Linked DNA regions of Homo sapiens: region 1 is linked to region 2. The links are contacts of gene promoters, found by promoter capture Hi-C in blood cells and fetal thymus (Javierre and others, 2016). All regions are on one chromosome and are shown on one strand. The core of a region is centred on a gene start or on the middle of the fragment in contact, and the rest is flanking DNA. Distances in the headings are between cores, read along the strand shown.

Region 1 (3,371 bases), core at 703-3,202, 530 kb after region 2:
CAACCTTGTGTATTGTGAATATTGACCAAAGCCACAGAAGTGAAGCTGTGGTGCACAGCTCACAGGAGGCACTTGGTGAATGTCAAGGCTTCTCTTTCTAGAATCAGCCCAGTGTCTGTATTGGGACAGCACCATCTCCTTAGGAGAGCACTGCCTGCATTAGTCTAGCACAGGAGATCTGTAATGGACTATGCGGGCCATTCCATGGATAAGTAATCTGACCTAGAGAGGTGAACTGACTTTTTCAGGTCATAGAGCTAATGGCAGAGTTGAGAGTTGAACTGCATTCTGATTTCAAATTCAGTAATTTTTTTTAACATTATTAACATTTTCAAAATTCAATAATACATTTTAAAAATTGTCCTTGCCCTGTAAAAGTGATTTGTATTAAGAACACATTCGTATATGTAGATAGCATTGCTAGTGCAGGTGAATCAAACCTGAATTGTTCTACATCACAAATAGCCAGTATAGAAGTTTAAGTGCAGAAAGATTTCTTTGTATATCTTGGGGTATTCTCTGTAACAGAACCACAGTGCTCCCTTGGAAACAAGGTGTCCACTTTTAATGTCTACATTTTACTTGATTTTAAATTCTCTATAGCTATTACTTCAGAGACTTATACTTGTTGACAGCTATGTGTAGTGGAAAGAGCCTAGCACTGAGGCGGTCAAGAGATCTGGATTCTAGTTCTGGATTTGGCATTACTTAGCTATTGTTCGCTGTTGGAAATGTAACTACTACTCCTATGACAGCTTGAAATATCTTGAAGTGAATCTGAATGATTTCTAAGTGTATTAGTTTCCTGTTGCCACTGTAACAAATTACCACAAATTTAGTGGTTTAAAGAACACAATATAAACTCTTACAATTCTGGAGGGTGGTCAGAAGTCCAAAATGGGTCTCATGGGGCTAAAATCAAGGCATTGGATTCTTCTGGAGTCTCTAGGGAAAAATCAGTTTCCTCGCCGTTTTCAGCCCTTAGAGGCCCCTGCACTCCTTGGTCATGGCCCCTTCCTGGGATCACTTCCACCTTTTGCTTCCATCATCATCATGTCTCCTACTCCTCTCTGACTTCTCCAATGTCTTTCGTGTAAATACCCTTTTGACTTTATTGTGCTTCCTTGAGTAATGTAGGAGAAGCCCCTCATCTCAAGATCCTTGACTGGATCACACCTGCAAAGTTTCTTTTACCATACAAGGAAACATTCAGAGGTTTTTGAGGTCAGGATGTGGGCACATCTAAGGGGCATCATTCAGCCTACCAAAGAAACCACAGTGGTCAATGATGGATGATTGGGGAATGCGGTCAGAAAGAATGAACTTATTTTTGGTACCTTCACTTATTTCTTGAATATATGAACAGATAGCAGATAATATAGTGTATGAGATTCAGAGTCATGTAGACCTGCATTAAAACCCCAGCTATACCACTTACTAGCTGTTTGACCTTAGGCAAAAAATATAATTTCTCTGAGTTTCTGCTTCTTCATCTGTAAAATGGGAATAATAATATGAGTTCTATATGTCTGTGCGTGTTTTTGTGTGAGGATTAAAATAACATATGTGAAGCGATTAGTACAATAACTAGTACAGATCAAGGTCTCAGTAAATGAGGCTATCACAACTGAAGCTGAGCCTTGCTTCTAACTCAGTGTACTTCTCAATATTTATCTGTGCAAGGGACCAGTTTTGTTTACTGTTACCTTAATTTTAATATTTTTATCTTTCCCCTCCAGTTATCATTCCCATTTCTTCCCCTGCCTTTTCAATAAGTCCTGTTTAACACACTTGCTATGTGTCTTTGAATGTACATATTTTATATAAAATCATATAGCATTATTTTATACGTGTGTGTTTCTAATTAAATGGGATGTAAAATACATTTAATGTTTCTTATTTTTTTCCACTCACTTTTGTGTTGTTCAAGATTTGTCCATCCAGCATGTTAGTTTTCCTCTCTGGCTATGGTCATCTAGGGTGCTTCAGTATCCCCTGCCATAGATGCCTATGCATTTACATGTCCCTGTAGAGAAGTTGGAAAGAGTTGCTCTGGGATATACATTCAGCAGTTGGAAGAAGGCTTATGGTACAAGTATTGCCAGATTGCTCTCTAGAAAGACTATACCATTTCTTCTTCTACCAGAAGAACAAATGTTCTTGTTTAGCATTGGTTTGCTGACATTTAGTGTTTTCTGACTCTGATTTTTTTTTTTTTTACAGGTGATAGTTACAAAGTGGTATCAGATTTATTTTTTAATTTTTTAACACTAGTAGGGTTGAGCACTATATATTTACTAGTTTTCAGGTTTTTCCATCCTATGGATACAAATAGTATGCATAATTTATATGGATATAAATTATTTGCTCATTATTGGCTTAACTAGCTTTTTGTTTTAGTTGCTTGTTAATTTGTTGGTATGTCTTGAATGTTCTAGATATTACTTCTTTATTGGGTTAATACATTTAAAATTTCTTGTTGAAACCTCTCAGGCTTTTGCTAACTTTATCACATATATATGTGTATATATATATTATAATGTTATATATTCTACATATACCCAGATGTAGATATTACATCAATTTTAGGTGCTGTAACTAGCTTTGCCAAGTCATCTGTATTTTATGGATTTGAGGGTTCCCTTAATGAAAAGAAATTCAACGATTTTCCCTCTATGATGTGTAATTGTTTTGGAGTCTTCTTAAAAAGATCTTTCCCACCCAAGATAAAAAAGATTCTTTCCTATATGGTCTCATTTGGCCTTTCTGAAAAGTAACCAGTTGCAGAAGATGCTCAATTATGTGAAATTAGTAAATATAGAAGAAGCATCAGTTGATTACTGTAGCAGTTCAACACTAAGGAATATGATGGTTGGTTTGGTTAAATTTTACTTAAAGTGATTCAACTTAAACTTGGGGGGAAAAAATCTTAGGTCAACAATTAGTCGGTACTTAGTCTCTGCCAGGTGTGGACTGAACTATCCAAAGCATGCTGGAGTTGGAAAGAGCCAATGGGAGAAATGAGGCAAGGGTCACGCTGAGTTCAGCCCAGAATTTGGGGCATGCTCTACAAAACCGTGCTGCCTAGGGCTGGCCACAGAGTCACTGGGGGCAAAAGGACTAACAAAACTGTAAAAGTGTGTGTTGGGGTAACAGCCATTTTGAAAATGTTTTAATGGTGATAAGAATGCATGTGTCAACCATGGATTAAGAGAATGATAACACTTTGCAGCAGATTTTAGACACACACTGCTTGCTTATGGCGAAATTCCTAGAAAGTTACCTGTGGAGCTTAATAACTTCTAGTCACTTCCTAGTTACCTGGAACCTTTTTAAAGGAAGAGATCATGTATTACTTGTTTGACTTCCTA
Region 2 (3,473 bases), core at 900-3,399:
CAACTGTTAAATTCTTTAGTTAATTTTACAAATATATACTGAAAGAACAGAATTTAATATAGTGGTCATCTGGATACAACAGAATCCTGCTACACTATACAGGAATAGATTCATATATGGTGTTAGTCAAACTCCATCTTCCAAATACAGCAGTGGTATATTTGGGCAGTGAGACAGGGCGTATTTCATCACTAATATTGTTTAGAATTTCTATCACTGACACTGTTTAGAATTCTGGCATATGGCAATAACAGAAAGCAGACATACTACATTTTATTATTGTTTTTCAATTCTCCATAGAAATGGATTCCCTTATTGCCTTGGGTGGGGAGTGGAAAGAACTGTTTCTACTGCCCCACCTCCACTTTGTTAGCCTCTGCTATACCTTGGGTGTTGGCATTATCATCAAACTACAGCATGAAAATACAATAATATATTTTTTATTTTCACTCCCAACTCTGGCCACTTCAAATATTCATAGTTTTTTGTTTTGTTGTTGGTTTTTTGTTTTTTTTTTTTCAGACGAAGTTTGGCTCTTGTTGCCCAGGCTAGAGTGCAATGGCACGATCTCGGCTCACTGCAACCTTCGCCTCCCGGGTTCAAGGGATTCTTCTGCCTCCGCCTCCCAAAGTGCTGAGATTACAGGTGTGAGCCATCGTGCCCAGCCCAAATATTCATAGTTTAAAGGTATCTACATCAAAATGAGTTAAAGTCCAACCAAAACAAACAAAACCACGAGAGTGTGCTACTCTTAAGAGCTGAACTTACTATTTCAAAGTAACTGAAAAGTATCTACAAGAGGGCTATTCCAGTCCCCTTTCACAAATCTGTACCTAGATATGAAAGCTTTAATTCTTTGTTGCATGAAATGTTATGAAAAATCAAAAGCTCATCGAGTAAGACATATGCTGAGATCACACCTCATTTAAAGATCATTTTTTTGGTGGGGTTAAAAGTTTACAGCCTACTTAGTGAACTGGTTTTACTTAAGCATGCCTGGTTACTCAGGATTAAATCCAGTTTAATCACATAAGTCCTTTCCCATGTCTCCCTAATGTTGTCACTACATACCACTTTATCTTGACACCAATTCCAAGCAAGGTTTGAAAACAAAAGTGAAGACCAAATTAATATTACTTTGTGACCCTGTAAAAGTGGTTTAAAGAATTAGTATCTGAGACAACTGAAAAGTATTGCTAAAATACAGTTTATTTAATCCGTAAGTCAAACACTTACAAGGCTGTGTACAGGTCTAAATGTGAAGGACATTTGATGCTTGCTGTGCCAAAATTCTGATTAACTTAAATCCTACCTACACACGATCCAAAGAAAAGTGCTTTGGTTCACATAAATATTTCAAGTTAGGGATTAATAAGCAGGTAATTTTTGGTGATAAACACCCCAGTTTACTAACCAGGAAACATCTTGCTTTCCATTTTGCATAGATATTTATCTATACATATCACTTACAGACACCCTTTCAACTCATCTTAAACCGGGACAAACAGAAACATCACTGTGAACAAGCCTCTGAAAATTCTATCTGGCAAGAAGTAACCCGAGGCTGAGGATTAACTAAACGGACGGTCTGGGTCGCTGCCCTGTGGGGCGAATGCGAGACTAGGTGGGTGAGGCCGCACTCGCCCGTTTGCCCGAGACCGGGAAGTTGGAGACGTCGGGGCAATTTCCACTACCAGGGGCCAAGGCGAGTCTGGGGCTCCAGCCCGGAGGCTCTCGCGCTCTAGGCGCGTCCTACCGGACACCGAGTTCTCTTGTCTCCGCCGGCAGCGGGCGCCGAGCGGGCCGAATCGGGGCGCGTGGGTCCCCAAAGAGGCCGACTCCGGGCGCTGGGCCCGGGGCGGGCGGGCGGCCTCCGGGCCCGCAGAACAAAGCCCACACGGCCATCTTGAGACGGTAAACAGACCCCCTGCGTAGGCCACCCCGCCTCCTGCCAGCTGCGCCGACCAGCCAGAGGCAGCGCTTACCGTCCTCGAAGTCCATGGCAGAGGCTGAGGGCCGTCGGCCTTGGCGGCGCTAGGCTGAGCTATGGCCGGCGGCGAGCGTCCGCGACCCGCGATTCCACACGATCACTCCGCGCGACCGAGAGCGGCGCGCTACCAGCCCGGGAGCCGCAGGCCACAGCGAGGCTGGGGAGGCGGGGCCGACCGGCGCTACCAGCCCCATCGGCGCGGCCTGCTATTGGCTGACGCGGGCTGGTGGGCGGGCCCTCGCGTGGGGGGCGGGAAGCAGGTCCGCTGTCACGCTCGGAGGTGCTGACCCTCTGGAGCCGCTGACGGGGAAGGAAGGTAAAAAAGGAGCGCTAAAGATTGGCGGGGGTTGTGGGAAAGCAAGCCGAGTGTACGGGAAGGGCCGGCTGCGGCCCGCCATGTTTGAACCTGGCAAGAGCGAAAGAAGCCGGTTGGAATGCCTTCTTCCTGCCCAAACTAATAAAACCGCATGCCTACCTTTTGCTTAGTATTGGCTAGGGATGACTAATCATAACATTTGTAAGTACTTACGGGGTTTCCTCCATGGAGACACAGAAGTCTGGGACGTTTCTAGAAGCCTGTGGCAAATTTGAAAAGCAAGATACAAAATAGCGTATGGAGTCTGATTATCGCTATGTCAATAAATTTTCTTAAAGGACAAAGCACTGAAATAAAATGGAAATAATAATTCTTTTAAAAAATTTTTAAATTATTTTTATAGAGATGGGGGTTTTGCCATGTTGCCCAAGCAGGTCTCCAACTCCTGGACTCAAGCGATCCCCCCACCCCCAGCCCCGTCTCCGCCTCCCAAAGTGTTAGGATCACAGGCGTGAGCCAATGCGACCCGCCTGGAAAGAATTCTAAAACATGGCCTGCTTGGCCACCGCCCAGGATCTGCAAGCTGCGCGCCCACAAGTTTCGGCACCCATTTGGACTTTCACAATCGGAGATGGCAGTGGTGAAGGCATCAACATCAAAAGCTACCAGGCCTTGGTATTCTCATCCAGTATATGCAAGATACTGGCAACATTATCATCAAGCAATGGCTTGGATGCAAAGCCACCACAATGCCTACAGGAAGGCGGTGGAATCCTGTTTCAGTCTTCCATGGTTCTTCCTTCCTGCGCTTCTTCCCCAAAGCTCTTACGATAACCAGGCTGCGTATCCTCAGTCCTTCTATGACCATCATGTGGCCTAGCAGGACTCCCCCTGCAGTTCTTCACATTTCAGAGGGTCTGGGCAACATCCACATGGCAGCAGTAGGATCCAGGCATCCACAAGAGAAGACCAAGCCTTATCCAAGGAGGAAGAGATGGAGACCGAGTCAGATGCAGAGGTAGCATGTGACCTGAGCAATATGGAAATCACCGAAGAGCTCCGCCAGTACTTTGCAGAGACAGAGAGGCACAGAGAAGAACTACTGCGGCGGCAACAGCTGGATGCGGAGCGCCTGAACAGCTACGTGAACGCTGAACACGACCTGTA

The links. The method cuts DNA at HindIII sites, captures the fragments that hold promoters and counts their contacts. A CHiCAGO score of 5 or more calls a contact.
Region 1: a contact is called between a fragment that was not itself captured here and the fragment with the promoter of ZNF326 in region 2, in 3 of 17 cell types (naive CD8 T cells, naive CD4 T cells and total CD4 T cells). The highest score is 6.2, in naive CD8 T cells.

What each region holds. Positions count from the first base shown.
Region 1 is chr1:89,462,062-89,465,432 of GRCh38, reverse strand. No RefSeq gene overlaps it. Among named protein-coding and RNA genes, the nearest start is that of LRRC8B, 61 kb to the left of the region's middle. The HindIII fragment of the contact is 6,077 bases long and covers 1-3,371 here.
Region 2 is chr1:89,993,786-89,997,258 of GRCh38, reverse strand. ZNF326 (zinc finger protein 326) reads right to left here and starts at 2,149. Exons shown (of 12, transcript NM_182976.4): 1 at 1,986-2,149. The coding sequence starts at 2,001. It also overlaps the pseudogene GEMIN8P4. RefSeq lists enhancers at 1,434-1,483, 1,365-1,930, 1,931-2,497 and a silencer at 1,704-2,343. The HindIII fragment of the contact is 7,808 bases long and covers 849-3,473 here.